2 separate regions of the Homo sapiens genome follow, and region 2 is linked to region 1. The links are contacts of gene promoters, found by promoter capture Hi-C in blood cells and fetal thymus (Javierre and others, 2016). All regions are on one chromosome and are shown on one strand. Each heading gives the region's core, a stretch centred on a gene start or on the middle of the fragment in contact. The rest is flanking DNA. Distances are from core to core; before and after follow the strand shown. Region 1 holds the start of LINC03051 (long intergenic non-protein coding RNA 3051). Region 2 has its middle 48 kb from the start of TUSC7.

Region 1 (5,110 bases), core at 1,022-3,521:
AGAGGAGCATGTATTCATGACATCATTCTTAGCATTTTATCAGAAGAGCTAAATTCCTAGAGTTAAATGGAATAGGAAGGAAAGGGATTAACCTCTGCTGCTGGCATAGTACAGTCACGATGCTAATGTCTCAATATGAAAAAGCTGAATTGCAGCAATATCTGAAATCACAGAGAAAGTCCTGTGAGCTTTGAAGGAAAAAATGTAAAGAAATAAAATGTAAAAAGCCAAAGCAAGATTGGGACTCTATTTTTCATTTAGACATGCTTAGTAGAAGAATCATGTATTGCAAGAGCTCACAAATTAGATAGGAGAGGAATGGGTCAGTGAGTTCTGAGATGAGAAAGTTTTTAGAACCTGTAACTTGTAATTGTATTATGGGTGAGTTCCAGCTGTTCCCCTAAGCATATTTTAAACTATAACTTCGACATAGTATTCATTCCCTTGCAATGCTTCAACAGTAAACAGCCAGGGAGTCTATTCTCTTTTCATTTAGCAAGAGGGCTTTATAGCTACACAAAATATCCCCCAGCAATGAAAAATGAAACCCACCAATGTAACATTAGCAACCAGCTGTCAGAAAAAAATCAGGAGTAGGATTGCCAGTCTGGTCATTTCATGCCAAGTGTTCTTGAGAGGCAGTGTGTGTGCGTATGTGTCTTTGTGTGTGCATGTGTACACTGTGTGTAAATGGAGTGTGTTCTGTAGCATGAGAGATGTGCGTGGGTAAATGTCCTAATGATGGCAGAATGCCCAAACATGAAGATGTAGTAGAACCGTCAGTGGTAGAGCAATATAGCACAGACTCTCTATGGCTAATTGTGCAAGGTTCCTCTCACGAGCAGGAAGAGTGAGACAGGAAGATTAAAAAGATAATATATTTTTATGTTGGAATTACTTCGTGTATTATAGGTATGTTTAACATCAGTGAGGGCTCTGGATGCCAGCTTGTAAGTGAAATGCAAACACCATGTATGTATTTTCATTTTTAACCTTCATGAATTTATTTTACAACCTCCCCAAAACATAGAAACCTACAATCCCTTCAAAGTAAACACCCAGCGCTAGCAATTTTGTCCTGCAAGCATGAAATACATTGACCATTATGAGCCAGCGCAGCGATTACCCGTGAATTCTCGTATTCATTCTCTCTCTCTCTCTCTCTCTCTCCCCCACCCCACTCTCTTCCTCCCTCCCTCTTCTCCTCCTCCCCCCCTCCCCGTGTCCCCCTCCCCCCACCCCACTCACCGTTCCCTTCCCTCCCGCATCCCTCCTCCATCTCGGGGCAGAAGAATCTGGTGGGGCTATTTTGCAGAGAGATACAAGTACCAGGTGCCAAGCGGATACCTAGCCTCCTAAACTTAATGCCAATTCCCTCCTGAAAGAGGAGGAATGCAGTGATATCAGCACCGGGGACACGGGGATAGCGAACACCACCGCGGCTCTTGGAGTTTACAGAGGAGCAACCCCAGCTCCGTCGCCACCACCTCGCGCAAAAGCCCCCACCCCACCAAGACACACACACACACACACACACACACACACACACACACACAAAACACGCCGCTCTATCCTGCCCCCCGTTCACACGCGCGCGCGCACACACACACACACACACACACACACACACACACACACACAAGCCCTGGCTTCTTTCCCCATCAACACCGATGTTGCAGCAAGTCTGTCCGCACAATCCCGCACGCCTCAGGACCCAGCCTGGGCGCAGAGCTGGCAGGGCAGGGAGCGCACCGCAGGACTTGTAAATAAACCCTGTTCCATCCAGAACCGGAGCGCTTCTTACTCCACCGACCACCCCGGAGCCCGGCGGCAGGGAGGAGGGGGCGCAAGGGGTCAGGGAATCCTCCCCCTACCTTGCAATGAGAAGAGGGACAGGAAAAAGCCCAGCACCCAGACGCTGTGCAGCCAGTAGGTCCTCATGTCTCCGCTGCGCTCGATGCTCCCTCGCGCGCTCCTGCTCTCGCCTCTTCCGCTCGCGCTCTCTCTAGTAAAACGCGCCGCTCCTTTCCCTCGGTTTCCCTCTGGGTTCTCCTGGTTCCGGCAACCCGGACAGACAAGCCTCTTGCCGCACGACGGCCGGATCCCAGAACAGCCTTGCTCTCCTCTTCGGGAGCGCAAGCCAGGGGCCGGGATGGACGCTCGTAGCCCGTGCCTGGTGTAAACACACCGAGCCCCCTTGTCCCTCGAGCTCTCCCGCTTTCCTGCTTCCTATCCTCCTCTCCCTCACTCCCCTGCAGCTTCAACTAAATGCGATGTACTTAAACAAGCAGCGCCTTATAGGACCGCGAACCGAGCCGAAAGGGCCCCGCTACTGCCATCTAGTGCTCACAGAACGGCATCGCCGCGGCTCTTCTTCGCTGTGTGTCTGTGCCAAGTCTATCCAACGCCGCCAAAGTCCCCTCTGCTCTCAGCAAACACAGGTGAAGCTCTTGCCTTCTTAAATCCTTGACTTGACCTTGCTGTCCCATAAGTCCTGAATTTCTCCTTTTCACGAGGAAGCTCTTGGAACATGCTAGCCGCACATCTTCATCACCTCATTGCTCCTCTCCCTCTCAGAAATCTCCAGTGCTTTCCTAACAACTCTATGGAAATTTTTCTCCAAATGTCACCATGACCTCCACCAAAAAGTCCAATGGCCTTTTGAAGCCTCATCCTACTTGATTTTGATGCTGCGCTTCACAGCGTGTGCCATTCCTTTTTATTTGATTTCAAAGTCACTGGGTCAAAACAATTCTGGCACTTCTGACCTTCCCTCCAAGAGCCCTCTGGGTTCCTCTGCACTTCTTGGTTTATATCTTCTGTTATAATTTCTTTAAGTTACTTGGAAATAAAAGGTCTATTACAGCTACACGAGGATGGAAACCTCCACCACTAACCTCGTGCTTAGCCCTCAGCTTAGACTTCCCAGCTGGGTACCAAGCATCTCAAACTGGATGACTCAGGGCCAGGGCTGAGTTGGGTGAGTAGGCAGATGGGGCCGCTCTGAAGAGCACTGACTAGTAGTTAGGAAAGCTGGATTTCAGTTCTGTTACTGTGGCCTCCACTCGTTGGGGACCTTAACTAAGTCATTCAATCTCTGAATTTCATTTTATTCATCCATGTATTTACATGATAATGAATATTGGTCCCTTCCAACTGTTTGTAATATCTATGCTAGGTTTCTCCACCTTGGCACTACTGACATACTGTACCAGATAATTCTTTACTGTGTGGGGCTGTCTTGTGCACTATAGGATTTATAGCAACATCCCTAGCTTCTGTCCACCAGCTGACAGTAGCACAACCCTCATCCTCCTAGTTATGACAACCAAAAACATCTCCAGGCATTGCCAAATGCCCCCTGGAGGGAAAAACTGACCCAGTTGAGAACTTCTTATCTATACCCACGTGATTTTCTTCAGGAATTATTCCCCTTTTCCAACTTCCCTGTTTCACAGGCTTCAAGAACTTTTAGAAGTATATTTAATTCTCTCTTCTCCAATTTCAGTTGATCATCAGTCTCACCACGACAATGTGTAAATGTGTCTAAGATGTCTCTATGTTTTTTTTTCAGTTTTACTGCCACCTTTTTCATAATAAACACGTGTTGTGCATTATACTTTCTGAAATACTTTTAATTATCTCTAATGCTGTGATATGTTCAAGGGCTATGTTAGCTCTTCGAGCATTAGTGGGAAATGCAGACAAAGACAAGTTAAGTGACTTTTCTTATGACATACGATAGGCCAGTGAAAGCAACATTAGCAGACCTGAAGGAGGTCTCCTGACTCTAGCAGCATTCCTGATCCATCTCTCTAGTATGGGTCTTTATTGCCACACCCCTAGATTTCTACAATAGCCTTCTACCTGATCCCTTTCCTCCATTCACTGCTCTAATCTAGTTTATACGTTACCACCAGGTTAATCTTGTTAACAGTTTCTTCAAGACTCTCACCTGCTTATGAGTTATAGCTGCTCCTTATGGTCTTCTAGAACCATACTAGAATCACCTGAGGACTTTTGCTGACGCATCATCCCACCCCAAACCAATTAGATCACAATTTTTGGGTTGCAGCCCTAGCATCCGGAGTATTTTAAAGATCTCAGGCCATCCTAATCTGCAACCAGGGCTGAAAAACACTAACCTACCAGACAGAATTCAGATTCTTCATTTTTAAAATGTAAGGTCTTCTGAAATTTCTTATCTTACCTTTAACAATTTATTTTTTTTTCAATCCCCAATGGAGACACTTTCTTCTAGATTGCTCAGTCTTCTTTTTTCCCCATGCACTTCCTTTATCTGCTGCTTGTTTGTCTTGCCAAGTCTGTTCCATTCTCAGGAGGCAATTTGCAAGTGGCCAGAGCATAGACTTTGAATCTAGAACTAGATGGATTCAAGTCCTACCATGCCTTTAACAAATGGAGAGACCTTGCAAAAGTCTCAAAGGACTTTTGTGAGTATAACTCATGAAGTACTTAATAAATAATGTCTAGTGGTATTGTTTTTCAAGGATCAACCTTGATTTCTTCAATGTTAATGCATGTCTTAGTAAGGTTTCTCAAAATACAATCAATTTAAGAACCCAGATGCAATAGAATCACAGTGTACATGTTAAAATTCCAGATTACTTAGTCATACACACAACCTAGTCTATTAATATATTTGGATGTTGGAGTCCAGGAATCTGCATTTTACTAGTATATCTAGGTGATTCTTTTGCCCTCTAATGATTGAAAAATCATTCTATAAGAACCACAAAGTGTTAAGAGTTGTGAGAAATTGTTTGCTCATGTAGTCCAGTTTCTCAGCCTCAGCACCCTTGACATTTTGGCCCAGATAATTCTTTGTTGTATGGGGCTGTCCTTTTTATTGCAAGATGTTGAGCAGTGTCCTTGACCTCTACCCACTACATGCCACTAGCAGACCCCTCTCCTCAAAGTATGACAAACAAAAATATCTCCAGAAATCCTATATGTTGCCTGGGAAACTAATTTCCCCCCACCCCAGCCACGCCCATGGAGTACAACTTGTCTAGTCCAAACCTCATTATAAGATAAGAAAACTGAGTTTCAAGGAAATCGCATGACTTGCTAAATCTTGTAGTTTATA
Region 2 (5,110 bases), core at 1,830-4,329, 1.2 Mb before region 1:
AATTTCCCTCCAGTTGCTTCATTCAGATCTCCATGAATATTTTTATTATCTTTTGTTAAGATTTTTATTAGCAGTTTTAGTCAATAAAAACTCGAAACTTAGTTAGATAGTTGGTACAATAGATGGAAGACTCATGATTAAATATAACTTCAACAGGATAAATAAAAATGGCAAGGTTTTTAAGAAATGAAATTAATGAGAATAAATGAAAGTACGGCAAGTGCTGCACTTGAGAAGGAGCAAAAAGAGCACCAATGTTGTCACTAAATGGCAGGTAACCTTGAGATGTCTATTTACTAACTGGATCTCAATTTTCCTCACCTAGAAAATAGATTGGACAAGGTGGTCCCTAATATTTCTTTCAGCTCTGGTCTTCTGTGGCAGATGTGTCTTCAGTAATGTGTTTGGTAGGAAAAATTATGACCCTCAATCATATTCCACATTCTGATCTTCAGGATTGTGACTGTATTACTTTGTATGGCAAAAGGGACTTTGAAACTGTATTAGTTTGGTGCAAAAGTAATTGCGATTTTTGCCATTACTTTTAATGGCAATGTTTTAATAATTAATATTACTAGTAAATTGATCTTAAAATAAGGAGATTATCCTGGATTACCCAGTTAGGGCTAATGTAAGCAAATGAATCTTTAAGAGCAGAAAAGGACATCAGAGAGATTGGAAGCATGAGATGGGCTCTACCCACCATTGCTGACTTGAACATAAAAAGGGTCACATGGAAAGCCTGAGAAGAAAATGATTATTCTACCCAGTGAGATTGAAAGAGGCTCACAAGCCCCAGATGAGAACCACAGCCCAGCAGATACGTTGATTATAGTTTGCTAAGACTCTGAGCAGAGAATCCAACCACGCTGTGTTGACTTTCTTACCTACAAAACTGTGAGCTAATATAATTATGTTGTCTTAATCTGCTAAATTTGTTATAGTGGCACTGGAAAAAATAATACACTTTCAAAGAAAGGGGTAATGCATTTTTTGTTTTTCCATACCATGTTCTAACCAACACAGAGTAATCTTGAAATGTCCAGAGGGCAGCTGGATATGAAAAACTGGAGCTTGTAAAAGAGAGCAAACCAAAGATACTGACTTTAACTCATGTGGACAAAAGTGATTGTTAACTCTACAGGAACGGATGTATTTACTACATACAACATTTGAGAAAAGCTAGAAGACTAGAAGCACATATGACTAAGTCTTCAGGAATGTCCAGAAGACAAAGGAGAAAGAGAAGAAATGGTCAAAGATTAAGATGAGAATAGGAAAGCATGTATTTTTGGCAACAAAAGTGGCAAAGCTTTGTAAAGAGGAGGTGGTCACACCAGATGGCTTCTATTGTTTCAGTGAAGTGGGAATCAAGATCAATTAAAAGTGCTTATTGGGACATGGAGAAGGAAGTTCTGCAGTAGCCTTTGCAGTGAGAGTCCTAGAGCATTTATTAGAGATAAAGTAAGGGTGCTCTTTGGAAGTGGGGCTAGAAGGATTTTACATGAGCCAGGGGTGTAATAGCATTTGTGTCTTCCTCCAGGATATAATATGAGTCAGGCCAGGAGAGTAGTACGTGACAGGTGATTTTGCTCCAAGCTTGGGTACTAGTACATTGCATACAGCAAAAAATCGATGAAGGAACAATAAACTAAACAATGGCTAGAACAAAGACTGTATTTTTGGAAAGTTCTTATTACAGCAAGGAGCATGCTGAATGCCTGGTTGAAGTTAGGAGAGTTAAATCAATTGAGACCCTAGCAAGAGGGGCAAAAAGGCTTTATGGTGCTAGGAAAATAGAAGAGGTGACAAAGAGCCTCTCTGACTGCAGTGCTCTTCAACATAGATCATCATATTCAGTCTCATCAACTTTAAAATAGAAACTACTTATGCTCATTTTCCAAATAATTTCTATTCCAGAGATAGAAATTCAAAAGTTTATATGACTTATCCAAGATCACACAGCAGGTCAGAAGCATAACTTGGGTTTAAAAGCTTTGCATCTTCCTCTAAGCTCTGCCGAGGTTAAATGTCTGGAAAGTGAAGTAGCAGAGACCAGAATCTCAGATTACAAAGCCGATGCCCTCCCTACCTCATTACGGCATTTTCCAAAACTACATTCTTAGTCACATTTAAGTTCTTTAATATGCATCTTTCTATCTATTGCTCATTTTATTCTCGTGGCAAACATGTGGATGTGAAAATTTTTATTCCTATTATATAGATAGGGAAAATGAGGTTTGGAGAATTGTTAAGTGATCTAACCCAAGTAACACAATTAGTTAGAGTTAGCACTCTTACACCAGCTTTAACCTTACCACCAGCATTTCTTTTCCCCAGTAACAACCAGACCTACATTCTTACCCTCTTTTGCCCTTAATTGTTCTACTGTCTCTTCCTCTCCTGGTTCATGCACTTAAAATCCCAGCGTCAATGTGTCTGTTTCCCACTTGGTTCCATGAGTTTTCCCACTTTGTAAGATAAATGTCACAGCCATCATTTGGTCTCCCAGCTGAGCCCAGAAGCCTTTGGATCCAGCTACTTCTTCCTTTTAGACAGAGTACACCTTCTTTAGAATGAGAAGTGGGATTTGGGTATGGTATGTCCTCCTCACACTGTTTTTCAAATCATATGGAACTGATGCAGTATAATGGGGATACTTTCAGAAGACTGGCAGCTTGTGTAAAAAAGCTGACTAAGTTAATCCGTGTGTGAAATGGAAGAATGCCTCGGGGAACATGACACAGTTTTTAAAAGAGGAGAAATAATAGATACTATAGAGGAGAAGGGAAAGAAAATGAAAGAGAGGAAAATGTGGAAGAGAGAAATAGAGAGAAAAATTTCTTAAAAATCAGAGGAAAAAATGGGGGCTTGCTATAAGGAAATAGATTTTATGAGAATAACTTTAAAAATAAATATAGATAATAATAATAATAAATACCTTTAAAGGCAGGCTAAAAAAATGCATTCTCTCTCCATTTCCCTCTCTCCCCCCTTCAGTTATCAGAGAATGTGTTAGGTAAAACGAATCTAAAAATAATAAACTAAGGTTTACTTTTTCTACATGACCTTGAAATACCTCTTTATTCCCAAGTTTCCATGGAAGGGGATGTAATTACATAAGTGTGAATATGTACTATTTCTTTTTATCTCTTTTCTTGATCTAGTCTACCCTGTCCTTCAAAAAGCTAATGAAATGAGAATAGGTAGGAGGCGACCCATTGAAGGTTAGTAGGTACCATCAGCCACTATATTAATGAGGCCAGGAGATGCCACAGCACAGCCTGGGGAGAAAATGCCTCAACAATGGCCAAGACAACACTGACCATTTCTAGCCTTTGAAAAATACAATGAATCAGAGGCAACATCTGACACTCCACTGGATTTCCGTGACTTCAGGAAATGAGCAAATAATATGCATTTTTCTTTGCATATAGGTAGTGAGCTTCTTTGAAATCAGAGCGATTCTTCCTCCAAAATACTCTTGAAGATAATTTGTTTTCCCGGATCTCTCAGGGCTCCCTTCAAAAACAGGATTTTGGACCTGCTGTGGCCGGACTCTCAATTGTGATATGTAGGCTCCCTCTACTGGACATATGGTTAGTTGCAGCCAGTGTGCGTTTTTAACGAACTTTGATTTCCTATATCCTTGTGACTTATGCATGATTATGGCTAATGAAGTGAGTACCAAGGATAATGCTTCACACACACACACACACACACACACACACACACACACACACACACACACACCATTCTTCTCTGAAAGTCTAGAATGCAGTTGTCTAGTATGAATAATTTAGCACCATTCTCTATTTTCGTTGTGCTTGCTCACTGTATATATGTAGGATTTTTTTTTCTTATTTCACTAACTAGAATAAAATTTATGGGTTGGGGATTCAGAATTTATTTATGCTTTTCATTAATTTCTTTTTAAATTTTGTGGGTACATTGTAGGTATGTATTTATGGGGTACATGAGGTGTTTTGATACAGGCATGCAATGTGAAATAAGCACATGATACTGACCCAAGTTTCAATGACAAGTCTCTACTTATTGGATTGAAGACATGTGTTTTCCACTTACTATTTGTATTACCTTGAGTCAGTTAATTTCTCAGAGCCTTGGATTCCTGATCTTGGGAAATAAAACAATAGGTACTCTAAGCTTGTTGTAAGAATTAAAAGATAAACCATATGTCAATGATACTCACATTTTTCTGGCACAGTAGAATATGATTCTCTAAGCAGTTACCAAACGCTAACTTCCTTTTCATTTGCTGACCTGTCTGTGTGGCCAGGTCAGTGGATTCAATTAGAAATATGTGACTCACATTAGCAAAAACAGTTAGACTTGAAATTATTTCAATTTTAATAAACTCTACCCAAATGAAAAAAGCATATATTTTCAGTATCCTCTCTAACTAGGCAATAGGCTAGGAGCACAGGCTGTAAAAAGGACTCAGATGTCATTGCTGGACTCTTCTCTCATTCTCTCCAGGAACACATGGAGAGGAGAAAATCTGTTTCTTGCTTCTGTATCAGTTTCTGCTCTATGGCATCCCTGGTATTTCTCATTGTAATTGCTCAATAGATGTTTATTAAAATAATCTTCAGTCATTTGTCTTGTTCTCCACCTTCTCCTATGTAAAGTGTAAAATGCATGTCCTTCCAATCCAGGACATCCTGCCATTAAACACATACTTATTTTTCTACTCCACATGTCTCTTTTCCCATTCCCTTCTCTCAACCTTTTGAATACACTTTAATGGTGCTGCCTTCTCACTTTTTACCTTGCATGCTGGGAGCTCCAGATGAGAGATGAAGCAAATATCTTGCTCCATTTGATCTATATACTGTATTGTCGATATTTCTCCCTTTTGAATTATCTTATTCCACAACAAAGACCATCATATACCAACATAGAGAAATAAATATGTGAGCTTAAGACTCACTCAAACCTAGAGAACACAGCTCATTCTCTTAACATGCCTTGAACAAACAGCACCAAATACAACTATAACCATGACAAAGAAACCAGAAGTCTCTGGATTAGTGTGGTGCCACCTGGACTCAGGAGTTTGCAATATTTGGAGGAATCAAATCATGTA

What was found. The method cuts DNA at HindIII sites, captures the fragments that hold promoters and counts their contacts. A CHiCAGO score of 5 or more calls a contact.
Region 2: a contact is called between a fragment that was not itself captured here and the fragment with the promoter of LINC03051 in region 1, in 5 of 17 cell types (monocytes, M0 macrophages, M2 macrophages and 2 more). The highest score is 11.4, in monocytes.

Annotation. Positions count from the first base shown.
Region 1 is chr3:117,995,308-118,000,417 of GRCh38, forward strand. It overlaps LINC03051 (long intergenic non-protein coding RNA 3051), which reads right to left and starts at 2,272. Exons shown (of 3, transcript NR_182298.1): 1 at 1,875-2,272. RefSeq lists an enhancer at 1,943-2,489. The HindIII fragment of the contact is 6,554 bases long and covers 1-5,110 here.
Region 2 is chr3:116,754,810-116,759,919 of GRCh38, forward strand. No RefSeq gene overlaps it. Among named protein-coding and RNA genes, the nearest start is that of TUSC7, 48 kb to the left of the region's middle. The HindIII fragment of the contact is 2,172 bases long and covers 1,994-4,165 here.